5 separate regions of the Homo sapiens genome follow, and all the other regions are linked to region 3. The links are contacts of gene promoters, found by promoter capture Hi-C in blood cells and fetal thymus (Javierre and others, 2016). All regions are on one chromosome and are shown on one strand. Each heading gives the region's core, a stretch centred on a gene start or on the middle of the fragment in contact. The rest is flanking DNA. Distances are from core to core; before and after follow the strand shown. Region 1 overlaps RCBTB2 (RCC1 and BTB domain containing protein 2). Region 2 overlaps RCBTB2 (RCC1 and BTB domain containing protein 2). Region 3 holds the start of ITM2B (integral membrane protein 2B). Region 4 overlaps CYSLTR2 (cysteinyl leukotriene receptor 2). Region 5 overlaps LOC124903174 (a long non-coding RNA gene).

Region 1 (2,700 bases), core at 118-2,617, 280 kb after region 3:
CTTCAAAATTACCTCATCATTTACTGTAGTGTATAAAACTTCATTGCCAGCACTGCCAAAGACACAAGCCTGACGAATTAACTGTAGTTCTTCTTCAGAACAAAGGGAAAAAATTGGCCACTTTCCCACATCTAACATCTTCAAAGATGACAGAGTAGCCTGTACTGGCTGAAAAGGAAAAAATATATGTTGAAATGACAAATTAAAAAGTGAATTTTCTCTGCCCCTTCAGTTCTGTAGAAGAGGGCGAACACTGGTTTTGGGAGGAACACACTGCATCCATTTTTGAGAGGCCTCTCGCAGCTGCAGGGATTGCCTCTGCCAGCTGCTTTTGGGCGGCTCACAGCCATCGAGCAGCGGAGGCCCGGATGGAACCAGGTCTCCCCTACTCATTGTCCTCAAGGACACAGGAGTCATCCAAAGCTGGGCTTCTGGGAACTGAATGTTCAGCAGATACTTTAAATATTGGCTATGTCTTAAAAGTAGCTGTGGAAACTAGGCTGGTTGTAAAAGCAAGAGAGACAGAGAGAGAGAGAGAGAGAGAGAGCTGCCATGTCATCTGCTCTCTAAGTCAAGAACAATGCTTGGTAAAGAACAACGCTGAAAGTGACACCAAGGAAATGGTCCGAAGTTTTAGTTCATGGGCAAGCTTTACTTGGCCTTCAGTTTAAGGAATTGGTGGGTTTCCTCATCCCTCAAGGAAGTTTGGGGGTTGACAGGAATTAACACCCAGAAAACACGTGTACTTGTTTGTTAAGGCAGCCGTAACAAAGTAGTGACAAACGAGGTGGCTTAACCAACAGAAATTTACTGTCTTATGGTTCTGGAAACTGGAAGTCCAAACTCAAGGTATCAGCTAGCTAGCTCCTTCTGAGGGCTGTGAGGGAAGGATCTCTTCCAGGCTGTGCTTCTCAGCTTGTGGATGGCTGTCTTCTCCCTATGTCTGTTCACATCATCTCCCCCCATGCCCTGCATATCTCTGCATCTAAATTTCCCCTTTTTATAAGGACACCAATTATATTGGATTAAGGTCCACCCTAATGACCTCATCTTAACTAACCACATCTGCATTGACCCCATTTCCAAATAAGTTGCACTGTGAGGTACTGGCTGTACTTCAACACATAAATGTTGCAGGGTCACAATTAACCCCCTAACAGCATACATTAAGATCACGAGCACCCACACTCCTATAAGAGGAAGTTATAAATTTGTTTGAAAGAGTTTTACCTATTTGCTACTTAGGAGGCATTTTTATTGATATACTTTTCAACTTGCCAACATTTTGTAGGTTATAATAAGATACATAAACAGCCAATATGTCTATCAAATGGCATGTCTGCTATTTCCCACAGCATCAACAAACTTACACATTATTTAAAGCAACAAAGATTTTCTAAGGCCTCTCTTTCCCATCAGTTATTAAATCAACCTTACCGGGAATGTGGTCTGGTGTATAACTGAGTGGACTATCCACTTACCTTCTACAGATCTGAACACCTACTTGTCCCTTCCACCTTAGGAGAGCACAAGTCAGCAACTCTGCTCTTCTCAAGTCCACACTATTAACTTAGTAAGCCTCCCCTGTCCTCATTACCATGAATTTCTCTGGGGCCACCTTCACAGACTCCTGAGTACACTTCAGGAGGACAGAGACCGAGTCTTTCACCACCATGTCATCCATCCCTTGAAAGGAGCTAACAATGCAATACCTACCTTTGTGTTGGTTAATGAACAAGTAAATGAATGGCTGTGACTCATTTCCAGATTCACAGCCCTCCTTTCCATCTCATCCTCTGTAACTCCTTCACACGGAAGCCATTCCGAAAACTGGGCCCCAAATCCCTGCTCTCGGCTCCAAGCTCTCCATTTCTACTTCACCTGAGCCATATCATCAAACACAACTTTGTTACTAAGTCCTCAAACTTTTAAGTTTCCTTCTGATCACGGCCAACAGTATTAACTTGTATCCAAAGTAAAGTTTGCAGTCAGTAAAGGGAAGCTAGGATGCACGGAGCAGCTGTCCCAATGGCCACTGGACCTAAAGCAAAAACAAGCAGAGCCACCAGCTTTTTTCTTGTAAATAAAGCTTTGTTTTCAGGTTTCTATCTTTTCTGAATAATCTTCATGGCACTATTGAATGCTGTAGCTAAAAAGAGCTCAAAAGATAGTTTTCTGAGAAACCCGAAGAAACCCCAGAGAGGAGCTGCAGTGGGTTGAATGGCTTCCCCCCAAAGTCCAAATCCACCTAGAACCTCAGAAGGTGATTTTGTTTGGAAATAGGGTCTTTGCAGATGTAATGAGTTAAGATGGAGTCATACTGGATTAGAGTGGACCCTACGTCCAATGACTAGTCTCCTTAAAAGAAGACGAGAGGGCACACAGTGATGCACAGGGAAGAAGGCCAGATGACAACAGACACAGGGACTGCAGTAATGCATCTGGAAGTCAAGGAGCAGCAAGGATTGCTGGGGGCCACCACCAGAAGCTGAGAAGATTCTTCCTGAGAGATATCAAGGGAGCATTGCCCTGATGATGCCTTGATTTCAGACTTCTAGCCTCCAGAACTGTGAGAAAAGAAATTTCTGTTGTTTGAATTGTAGTCATTTGTTACAGCAGCACAAAGAAACTAACAGAGAAGACAAGCAGCTTGTCCCTGCTATCAGCATCACCCTGTGAGTTAATGGCAGAGCCTGTACC
Region 2 (2,700 bases), core at 104-2,603, 260 kb after region 3:
AGCACATTTCTCTCTGACTTCCAGGCTTGCTTATCCAATTTGCTTATTAGACATTTCCATTTGGATGTCTAATAGACATCACATACTTCTCATATTCAAAACCAAATTTCTGATATTTCCCCCAAAATGTTGCTCCTATCTTCTATATCTCAATAGATGCCACTTTCATCCTTACAGCTGCTGAGGGACAGAACCTCCTCAGTCGTCTTTTTTTTCCTCACATCTAATCCATCCGCACATCCTGTTGGCTCTACTTTCAAAATGTATTCAAAATCTTAACCACTTTTTACCATCCCCACAGGTGATAACTTGGACCAATCCACCATCATCACTTACTGGATTATACAGCCTCCTAAGTACCCTCCTTCACACACACACACACACACACACACACACACACACTCTTCTCTCTCTCACCCTCTCTCTCTCTCCACACACACACACACACACACACACACTCTCTCTCTCTCTCTCTCTCTCTCTTCTCTTCTCTCTCTCACCCTCTCTCTCTCTCCCTACCTCCCTCCCTCCCTCCTCAACACAGCAGCCAGGAGGCAGGAGGATTACTTCAAATGCCCATCATATCTGCTCCTCTCCAAACCCTCTGATGGCCACTCACCTTGGAACTCTGATTCCTGAAACTTGCCTATGGACTCTGCAGGCCCTGCCTCCTCCCACACACGCCACTGTGCACCTCCACCGCACCATCTCCCTGCCTCATCAGCTACTTCCCTCCCCACTGTGCTCCCTCCACACCGGGCTTGCTTTTCCCAGAACACACCACCCACACCTCCTTCAGGTCTCTGCTTGAGTCACCTGCTCACTGATGTCTTGCCTCCCTGACCATTCTATTTAAAATTTCAACTTTCATCTCAGGATGGCATTCCCTAGGCTGTCTTCCCTGTCTTACTTCTTTCCATATCACTTGTCACCATCTGACATACTATATATCCTATTCATTTATTGATCACCTATCTCCCCTCACCAGAAATTCCCATGAGAGCAGAGATTTTGGATTGTTTTGTTCATTTGCAGTACCCCAGTGCGTAGGGCAGTGCCAGGCATGTAGCAGGCACTCAGTGAATATTTGTTGAATCCATGCATAAATACTCCTGATTTCAAAATACTGAGGACAATGGAGAATTGTAGTTAAACATGCGGTTTTAAAATGTGCCCAATCTTGGACTGTATCCCAGTTTTGCAGTTTACTAGTTTACTCAGATTACTTAATCTTTCCAAGCTTCAGTTTTCTCATTTATAAACTGGATCTAATATAATAATGCCTATGTCATATAAGGTTGTTTTGAGGAGTAAATGAAACATGAACTGTGCTTAGAATAATCCCTGGCTCATATTAATTATGTACTAAGTGACAGTCCAGCATGAGGGATAATAATTTGCTGAAAGAGCCCATTTCTTGCTTATTTGAGCCAGGCAAATCAAATACAGCACTGTTCTTTATTTACGAAAGCTTGTATTTTACATTAAGTACATATACAGTCTATTTTACTTATAGTCTATTATACTAATTTAGGGTACAGCAATTAGCTGGACAGGCTGTAGTACAACAGTGCATCTCTATAGGCAAAACTGAACATCCATGAAAGGGGTATTTAGTAGGTACCTACTCTGTGTCAGACACCGTCCTAGGCGCTGGGGATATGGTTGTGAGCAAAACAAAGTCCCTGCCATGCCTCAAAGAGCTTACTTTCTAGAAAACAGAGAGCTGGAAGGTAGCCAGACAAATAATTCACATAAATAGAGAATATAAAAAAGTATTAAAAATGAAGCCTGATTCAGATGCAAACACCACGTGCCACCATCTTGACATCTGAGATGGCCCTCCATCACCGTGGCTCATCACTGTGATGCTCAAGAATGGACTAGGAAAAGTGCATGGATTTTGTCTGACCATGAAACATTCTGTGTTGTAAGTGCCCAATATGTTATTGCCTTGATATAAAACATTCACTGTGCTGTTAAATGTCATTGTTTTGAGGTAGTACTTTTTTTTTAATGTTAAGTGAAAAAAAATCTAGGTTTCAAGTATTTACAAATATATAATGTGACATAAAACAAAAACTCAGAAGCTGTTATATGAAAGTGCTAATGTTCTCTGGTTGATGAGTCATTACCTTCCTCACTTTTTGTCTTTTACAAATTTTCTTTAATAAGCATAGTATTATTTATGTAAACAGAAAAAAAGTTATAACCTTTCATCTACTAAAATGTCTCTGTTTTCTTTGACCAAAGGAGAGGATATCCTTATACCAAAAGGAAACTGACTCGAAGATGTTACAGCCTGTTTCCTAAAGATTTGGTTCTAAGATTGGTTTTCTTTCCTTTCTTTATTATCATAACAATACATGGTCACTGTAAAAGTTAAAAAAAAATAAGCAAAGAGAAGAAAATAAAAATCACCCACAATCCCACCATTCAATGATAACCACTAAGCATAGTTTTCAGTCTTTTTTTCTATGTAGATAATGAATTTTAGTTTTTTATTCAGCTATTTATACTTTTTCAAAAAATAAAAATAGGATAAGTTTTTCACTTAGTGATATATCTTGAATAGCTGCATAATTTCTTGATATTAACATTTTATAAACAAGCCTCCACTATTCACACTAACCTTTTTCTGATTTTTCAAAATTATAAACTGCTGAAGTAAACACCTTTGAAGCTAAGTCTTTGTGCAAA
Region 3 (2,700 bases), core at 133-2,632:
TTGACTTTGAGGAATTAGATAACATTAGATACTATGAAAGTCCAGTCCATAGAGTCAACCTCACAGAGCCGATGCCTGCACAAGGGCGACCCAGGAGTTTAAATAAGTTGCTGCAAGTATGGTTAGCTACTGTTAAAACTCACCAGAACTGGAACCTAACTCATCCTCCTCTTGGTTGAGCAGATTTCATTTTGACAGGAATTTCTGAATACCCAAAGCAAACTCAAAGTCTGGCCTGGGTTTCTATCTCAGCCCAGGATGCTTCTGAAATACATGAACAGAAGGATTTGGAGATCTTGGGCTGTTTCCCTGGGACTTATGATCTGACATTCTATGGAAATACCCAACTCCCTCCTTGAGCAGGGCCAAATCCCCAAAGATCTCAGACTGAACCCACTTTTTTCAGGGTTGGCCCAAGGCAGAGCTGACACAGCTGTAACATTCTAGAGCACACCCACAACTCTGGATGAACCAGGACAGAATGGGGTGGAAGGATACAAGATAACACATTTGTCCAAGGGGGCCGTCTGTTGACACAGTAATGAACGCAGTAACGACGGGAGCCAGTATTCTACCTCGCATTAGTTGTAAATGAAACGTCTTCAAAACATGAGAATTTTGCGTTATCCTTAATTATTTTTTCATTTTGCAGAAAAATAAAGGGACTCGTCATCGAGTACTTTGAGTCACAAATCAGCCAAGTGTGCATGTGGTTTTTTTCCAAGTACGCACAAGAGTGGAACATTTCGTTTTACGAGTGTGAGATGTTTGAAATACAAATCTGCCAAGAGCTTCCTCCACATTGGTCTGGGACTAGGCAGAACAGGCCCTGACCTCCTGAGAGAGGGAAGGAAGACCAGGCAGGTCTGAGCCAGGTAAACGCCCTTGGGTGAGGTCCGTGAAAGATAAAGTCAGATCTCAAGGACAGAGAGCTTTAAACATGTTTGTGCTCCACTGAGTCGGTTACCTAATAAGTGAGAAAATGAAGATGTGGATGCACAAAAATTCCATGGCCTTTAGGCTCGCGGTGGGGACAGGGTACAGGGAAGCGGCGGTCTGGTGCTGCCAAAGGTTAGTCCCTTGTACCCGGCGAACTCAGGAAAGTTCACTCGATTTCGCTACAAACCTGCAGCACTCGGCCTGGAGGTAACCTGGTTGGGAGCGAATTCAGAACTGGAAATTCCAGGCGGCCCAGAGGGACACCCATCCCTCTCCGAGGCGCGCCGGGATCCGGCGCCCAGCTGCGGGGCGAGGGCAGGGTCCCGCGCAGCACCCCACCCCCGGCCGCTGGCCCCGCCCCCGCCCCCGCCCCGCCTCCCAGGGGATGTGCGAGCAGTCTCCGCCCTCGCGCGGGAGCTGGGAGGCTGCGAGATCCCTACCGCAGTAGCCGCCTCTGCCGCCGCGGAGCTTCCCGAACCTCTTCAGCCGCCCGGAGCCGCTCCCGGAGCCCGGCCGTAGAGGCTGCAATCGCAGCCGGGAGCCCGCAGCCCGCGCCCCGAGCCCGCCGCCGCCCTTCGAGGGCGCCCCAGGCCGCGCCATGGTGAAGGTGACGTTCAACTCCGCTCTGGCCCAGAAGGAGGCCAAGAAGGACGAGCCCAAGAGCGGCGAGGAGGCGCTCATCATCCCCCCCGACGCCGTCGCGGTGGACTGCAAGGTCCGAGCCCGGGGAGGTCGAGGAAGCGGGTGCTGGGCCCGGCCGGGGAGGGCTGCGCGGACTGCAGCGGCAGTGCGCCCCGAGGTGGCGGGCGCGGGGCTCGCGCCGCGGGGACAAGTCCCCGAGAGAGCCCGGCGCTCCCGTTTCCTGTGGGTCCGCAGCTCCTTTGTAAGGAAGTGCGTGTGCTGGAAGCGGTGCCTGACGCGGGGTCGGGGGCTTGGGAGGCCTGGAGAGGGAACGATTGGCTAATTGTGCCGAATTCCCGGTCGTTTGTGCAGTCCGGGGAGCGTGCGTGCAGCCAGGACTTGGCTTGTTCGATCTGGGGACCGGCAGCGACAGGCACAACAACAACAACCGAGTTTGGCACTTCCTTCCCAGTATAAATAATGTACCTAAAATGGCTGACATCATTACAAGCCTAAACCTCTGTTGTTTCCCACTTTCGTTTCTAGGCTTGAACAGCACTTGGACTAAGTCCAGCAACTGTAAGCGTCTTAATTTTAAAAGCGTTTCTTTACCTCCTTTTTCCACGGCCCTTCGGTAGTGGCAGGTGAACTTCACCTGGAGAGGGGACGAAGGGACAGTCCGCCCGAAGTAGGTTTGGGCTGTCTCTTACCATTACTAGTAAAGGCCAGTAATGACTATGTGGATGTTAGTGAAAAACCAATTGTTGGCATTTAAATTGTATCAGCGTCTTTGTGAGGACTCCTGCTGCGTGAAACTAAACATGAGAAATTTGCCCCCGGGTCCCTAATAAAATTCTCCTTTATTTTACAAAATCTCCCTTTAATCCTAGGAAAATTCATGAAGTGGGGCTGTTACTGTGTTGACTTTTAGTAGGTTACGATCATATTTACTTAAATATGAGTGTAATTGTCTCATAAGTTAAAAAAGCCCACAGCCTCTTACCCAGACCCTTTTTAGGCTGCAAAAATTAGAAATTAACTGTAAAGTTATGTTGCTTATCTTATTTTTTGTTGTTGTTAGCATTTTTCAAGACCTATTATCAGTAGGGTAAATTTAGTTTTAACTTAAAAAAATTGGTG
Region 4 (2,700 bases), core at 67-2,566, 420 kb after region 3:
AGGGCTGCGTTCTGGTTTCTCCCATCAGGGACTGAAAACAGAGCCACAGCGCCTAAACCACACTGAAGCATTTGCTGTTGCACTCAGCCTGCTACAGGCTAGGAATCATCCCAATGAGACCAACAGCATGTTAATCTAATTTCTTCTTGTTTTGACTCAGTGGAGAACACCTGTTTAGTACCTTCTTTAATGAATGTAAACATTCACATAGTACTTTACTATTTACAAAACATGTTTACAGGCATCAGTTCATTTGATCCACATACTAGCCTTAAGAACTGGAGGATGTAATTCTTATTTTAAAGATGGTAAAGATGAGACCAAGAGAACATAGGATCTTTCCCAGGTGGAACCAGAACTGGTCCAATCTGGTTGAGCCCAGGGCACATGGTCCTTTCTTACAACTTAAATAATAGCTATTGTGGGAAATTGGTTAAACAAATTTCATAATGTTTATATAATTGGCTATTCTGTATCCAGTTAAATGATGACATTGATGTTGTTAGTTGGCAAAGAAAGGTGATCATGACACGAAATAAGAAAAAAGCAAGATACAAACAGCATTATAAGTGTGCTCATTTTTGTTCAAAAATATTTGTATATATTTCAAGAAAGATAAAAAAACCATATATGCAAAATTTTAGCTATGTCTGGTTGGTGGTAAAGTTCATTATTTAAGTTTATTTCAGCTTGTATTACATTGTAATTTTTTTTTACCATGAATGTGTACTACTTGTGTAATAAAAATAAATAGAATTGTTCATGTGTTTCTGGTTGGCTCTTCTCCAGATGAAATGGCCCCATCTTCTTTCACTTGACCATAAAGAAGGCTCCTGTTTAATTATCTGAGTTTTGTACATTATTGTCACAAATCTTATTGTGATTGTTAGCTAGTACTGACTGAACTCTTCACATGTGTTGGGCACCAAGTTAATCACTTAACATCCATTTTTTTTTCATCAATACTCACTCCAGTGCTCCTTTGGCAGATGAGAGTTTGAAGCTCAGACGGCTGCAGTAATAAAAGAGACTAAAAGGCAGAGTTGAAACTTAAACCCAGGTCCCTTTTAACTCAAAAGCACATGCTTTCATTCATTATATCACTCTGCCTCCTATCCACCTGGGATCACATGAGCAGCCTCCATTTTGGAGGAAAGATGATATATTTTTTCAGTGTACTCATTGCTGTGTACATGAGTACATGATGGTTACCTTGGGCATCGTTAGCATTTCCTGTGTACTCCAGAATCAAAGATCCTTTCTGCTTTTCTATAGTTTGCTCTGTGCACCAGATATCTGAGGCACTCTAGTTCCCCAAGGGTAAGCCTTTAAGATAAAAGCCTCACAAGGGATTGTGCAATTACCCAATGAACTCTGGCTAATGCGGCAGCCAAATTGGATAATACAAAGAAAGGCAAGCATTTTGCTGTGGGTGCTCAGCGTTGCTAGAGAGCTTTTTGAAATCCATGTCAGAAACCCCTAGCACTGTATTTCTTTATTTCTCAGGGTATTGGCCACTGCCTCCTTTGTACTGCAGTTACTTATGTACAGTATGTTCTATTGGACCAAGACTCTGACATTGGAGTCATTGCATAGAACCTAGCACATAAACTCCATTGAGAATAAAGGCATTGTGTAAATAAATCAATTCACCCAATGAATGCAGACTTTATTAGTTACAGCTAATGTTTATCTCTGTTGAACTTTATTAACCTCTTTATATTAATTGACCCATGGAGAAAATATAATCTTGACAGAATTTAAAGGAAAACCTCTTCCAATGGATTGATGACTTTGTGGCAGTACAGTCAGTCTTTTGACAAAGAAATCTAGTTATTATTCGAGAGGCCCAGGATAAGGGTCTAAGCAGTGAGTTGGAGTCAAGAAATTCCAAAGTCGGAAGGGTCCTTAGGAAGAGCTGGGACCAGAGGCAGAGTTTTTTTTGCCTCTTTAGTGTAAAGTCCTTAACGGAGAGGTTTCAAAAAAGTACAGGAAGCAGACTATAGAAAGAACAGAAGAAAGGAGAGAAAGGAGGGAAGTAGAGGAGAGGGGAGAGGAGGGAAAGAGATGGAAAAGGAGAGAGGAAAAGAGGGGAAGGGAGCTGGTTTACTCTGGAAGTTTAAATATTAATTAAGCTGGGAGAAATTAAAATAATTTAGTCCACCATTATTACCTACATTGTACATTATATAAATAAGAATTTATTATAAAAAAGATAATTTCCCACGTAAGTCTCCTGCCATGAGGCTGTAGAAACAGCATCGTACCTTGTTTGTACCTCTAGTACAGAAAAACAATCATCTAAAGAGTATTTGAAGGCATCCTAGATTCTTTTTTCTCTTTTGTCAAATTATTATTTTTAAAGTATTTTAAATTTGTATAAATTTATGGATTACACATGCAATTTTATTAGACGTATAGATTGCATAAATTGTGTAGTGGTCAAGTCAAGGCTTTTAGGGTAACCATCACCTGAATAACATTGTATCCCAGATTCTTTTAAGTAAGCTGGTTTCTCTTTATTTTGAGTCTTACCTTAAAAATAAGGTAAATTCGCTGAGAGATATGTAAATCTCTTGTAAATTCACTGTTCCTTTGTAAATTCACTGAGAGATATGAAGGTGACTCCCTTTTAGTTGTAAGAGGCACAAATCCCTATTGGGAACTTGTTGGCACAGAGTCAGAGAAACAGTCTGCTAC
Region 5 (2,700 bases), core at 78-2,577, 320 kb after region 3:
GACATTTGTAGTAAGTTTTTAATAAGTGTTCTTGATGGTTTAAGAAAGTTTCCTTCTGTTCCTCAATTAAATATTCTTTTTGTTTATTTTAAAATCATGAATAAATGTTGAATTTTATTAAATGCTTTTATTGGGCATATATTGTGATGATCATATATTTAAAAAATTTTTTAATATGGCAAATTATATTAATATATTTTTATGCCTTAAACTATCCTTACATTCCTGTGATAAACTGGTTAGTCATAATAATTTTTTAAATTATTATTTTTAATTGACTCATAATTTTACATATTTATGGGGTACACGGTGATATTTTGATACATGCATACAATGTGTAATGATCAAATCAAGGTAATTACCATCTCCATCACCTCAAACATTTATTATTTCTTCATGTTGGGAACATTCAAAATCTTCTTTTCTAGCTGTTTGAAAATATACAATAAATTATTGTTGACTATAGTCATCCTATAGTGCTATAGAATGCTAGAACTTATTTCTCCTATTTAACTGTACTTTTGATTCCTTAACCAACCTCTGGCATCCCTTCTTCCCACTATCCTTCCCAGGATCTAGTACCATCATTCTACTCTCTGCTTCTAAGTCATGATAACATTTTTGCATACATTGCTGAATTCAGTTTGCTAAAATTTTATTTATAGGATTTGCATCTATATTTATACATAAGCTTACATTCAATTTTTCCTTCTTATATTTTCTTGCCTGGTTCTAAGTGGGGAAATGAGTCTTCTTTTCCATTAGAAATATTTATTTCTTTTTTCTTTTTTGAGATGGAGGCTCACTCTGTTGCCCAGGCTGGAGTGCAGTGGCATGATCTCAGCTAACTGCAAACTCTGCCTCCTGGGTTCAAGCGGTTCTCCTGCCTCAGCCTCCCGAGTAGCTGGGACTACAGGTGTGCACCACCATACCCAGCTAATTTTTGTATTTTTAGTAGAGATGAGATTTCACCATGTTGGCGAGGCTGGTCTCAAACTCCTGACCTCAGGTGATCTGCCTGTTTTGGCCTACCAAAGTGTTAGGATTACAGGCATGAGCCACTGCACCTGGCCTCTATTAGAAACATTTCTAATATTAAAAAGAGTTACCTGCCCCTTAAAATTTTGGTAAAACTTGTTTGTAAACTCTTCTGGGCATAGTGTTTCTTGGTATGTTTATTTTGTAAACCTTTGAATTAATTTTTTCAAAAGTTATGAGTGGGTTGAAAGTAATCTAGTACCCATGATAAGTCAATACCAGTTTTTTTCAGCAATTGTCTGTTTGGATTTGTTAGTTGTCCTTTGGTTTCGTCATTGTCTATCCTGTATCAGTTGAATATTTTAAAATATTACTCTTGGATATAGACCTATTCAAGTTTTTTATTTCTTCTTGAGTCAATTTACATAACTTACATTAAACCAAAAATGCCCTTTTTATCATGAAGTTGTTCATAGTATTTAGTTAAGTTTTAATGATCTTTATGTTAAACTCTTATTTTTCATATGGTTTATTTGTGCCTTCTTTTCTTGATCAATCTTGTCAGAGAATTACTTAGACTTTCTTATATAATTATAATTTTGGGGTGTTTACTCCATTCTTTTTTTCTAACTTTTAATTGAACATTTAACTCATCTATTTTCTATCTTAAAAATGTAGACATTTAAAACTATAATTTTTCCTCTTAGTATCACTATCTGTAATTAATAAGTTTTAAAATGCAATACTCATAGAATGTCATTCAGGTTTAAACACATCTCAAATTTAATTGTAATTGTTTCTTTCAGACTACTTTGAAATTTCAGTTTCTAATTTTATTGCCTTGTGACCGGTTTATTATGTATGCTATTGATAATTTGTATTTTAAGACTTCTTTTGTGGCCTAGAAGAGTGCTCAGTTTTTATAAATTCTCTATAGGTGCTCCAAACTTTAATTGTTGGTAAGAGTTCCTCATGTATTCTTATATTAAGCTTGTTAATATCATTTTATTCAATTTTTCTATATATTGACTTATTTTTTCTGTCTTCTGTCTTCTCTTTCACCCATCCTAATGAGATTTTCACAATTTCTCCTATTTTTTTTGCTTTATATGCATATAAGACTATATTGTTCATTGCATATGGGTTCAAGATTATTTGTTACTGATCAATTGTTTTTTTCTGTCACTAAGTCTTAATCCTTTTTATCACTAAAACCAAAGTTTTTCTTAAAGTATCTATTATCTGATATTACTTTAACTACATCATCTTCATTTTGTATAGTATTTGCCTAGTATATTTTTCTTTTTTTTTCTTTTTTCTTTCAATTTTTCTGGGTCATTATAATTTGAATGTTTTCTTATAAAAAGCTAATTTTTAAATAGTTTATAAAAAGTTTTCTTTTAAAAAGCTAATTTAACCCATTTATATTTATTGTAAGTTCTGACATGTTTGGTTTCATGTCTGCTATCTTTTTTTGTGTTTTGCATTTACTATGCTTTGTTTTTACTTTTCCCTATTACCATCACTTTTCTCTAGTGTATTTGATTTATTAAGTTTTCTTGGGCCCTCAACACTTTATTTTAATTATTTTACTAGTTACCTTAAATTTTTAGCATGCATAACTGATATGACAAACTCTAAAGTTAATTGTAATATTCTGTTACACTGAACTGTGTCTCTCAGTATTCAGGCCCTTGTGTAGTCTGCTCCTCTTGAATCTGG

The links. Contacts are between HindIII fragments. The CHiCAGO score rates a contact against its expected background, and 5 or more counts as called.
Region 1: a contact is called between a fragment that was not itself captured here and the fragment with the promoter of ITM2B in region 3, in 1 of 17 cell types (non-activated CD4 T cells). The highest score is 5.8, in non-activated CD4 T cells.
Region 2: a contact is called between a fragment that was not itself captured here and the fragment with the promoter of ITM2B in region 3, in 2 of 17 cell types (total CD8 T cells and non-activated CD4 T cells). The highest score is 5.6, in total CD8 T cells.
Region 4: a contact is called between a fragment that was not itself captured here and the fragment with the promoter of ITM2B in region 3, in 1 of 17 cell types (monocytes). The highest score is 5.0, in monocytes.
Region 5: a contact is called between a fragment that was not itself captured here and the fragment with the promoter of ITM2B in region 3, in 4 of 17 cell types (total CD4 T cells, non-activated CD4 T cells, total B cells and 1 more). The highest score is 5.9, in total CD4 T cells.

Annotation. Positions count from the first base shown.
Region 1 is chr13:48,515,574-48,518,273 of GRCh38, forward strand. RCBTB2 (RCC1 and BTB domain containing protein 2) reads right to left here. Exons shown (of 15, transcript NM_001268.4): 5 at 13-168. Among named protein-coding and RNA genes, the nearest start is that of RCBTB2, 16 kb to the right of the region's middle. The HindIII fragment of the contact is 1,440 bases long and covers 648-2,087 here.
Region 2 is chr13:48,492,859-48,495,558 of GRCh38, forward strand. The region is part of intron 14 of RCBTB2 (RCC1 and BTB domain containing protein 2); the gene reads right to left. Among named protein-coding and RNA genes, the nearest start is that of RCBTB2, 39 kb to the right of the region's middle. RefSeq lists an enhancer at 623-702. The HindIII fragment of the contact is 231 bases long and covers 1,239-1,469 here.
Region 3 is chr13:48,231,824-48,234,523 of GRCh38, forward strand. It overlaps ITM2B (integral membrane protein 2B), which reads left to right and starts at 1,383. Exons shown (of 6, transcript NM_021999.5): 1 at 1,383-1,654. The coding sequence starts at 1,538. RefSeq lists silencers at 1,259-1,618, 1,629-1,838 and an enhancer at 1,894-2,591. The HindIII fragment of the contact is 15,181 bases long and covers 1-2,700 here.
Region 4 is chr13:48,655,460-48,658,159 of GRCh38, forward strand. The region is part of intron 1 of CYSLTR2 (cysteinyl leukotriene receptor 2); the gene reads left to right. Among named protein-coding and RNA genes, the nearest start is that of CYSLTR2, 2.9 kb to the left of the region's middle. The HindIII fragment of the contact is 3,977 bases long and covers 1-2,700 here.
Region 5 is chr13:48,553,240-48,555,939 of GRCh38, forward strand. The region is part of intron 1 of LOC124903174 (a long non-coding RNA gene); the gene reads left to right. Among named protein-coding and RNA genes, the nearest start is that of RCBTB2, 22 kb to the left of the region's middle. The HindIII fragment of the contact is 1,277 bases long and covers 690-1,966 here.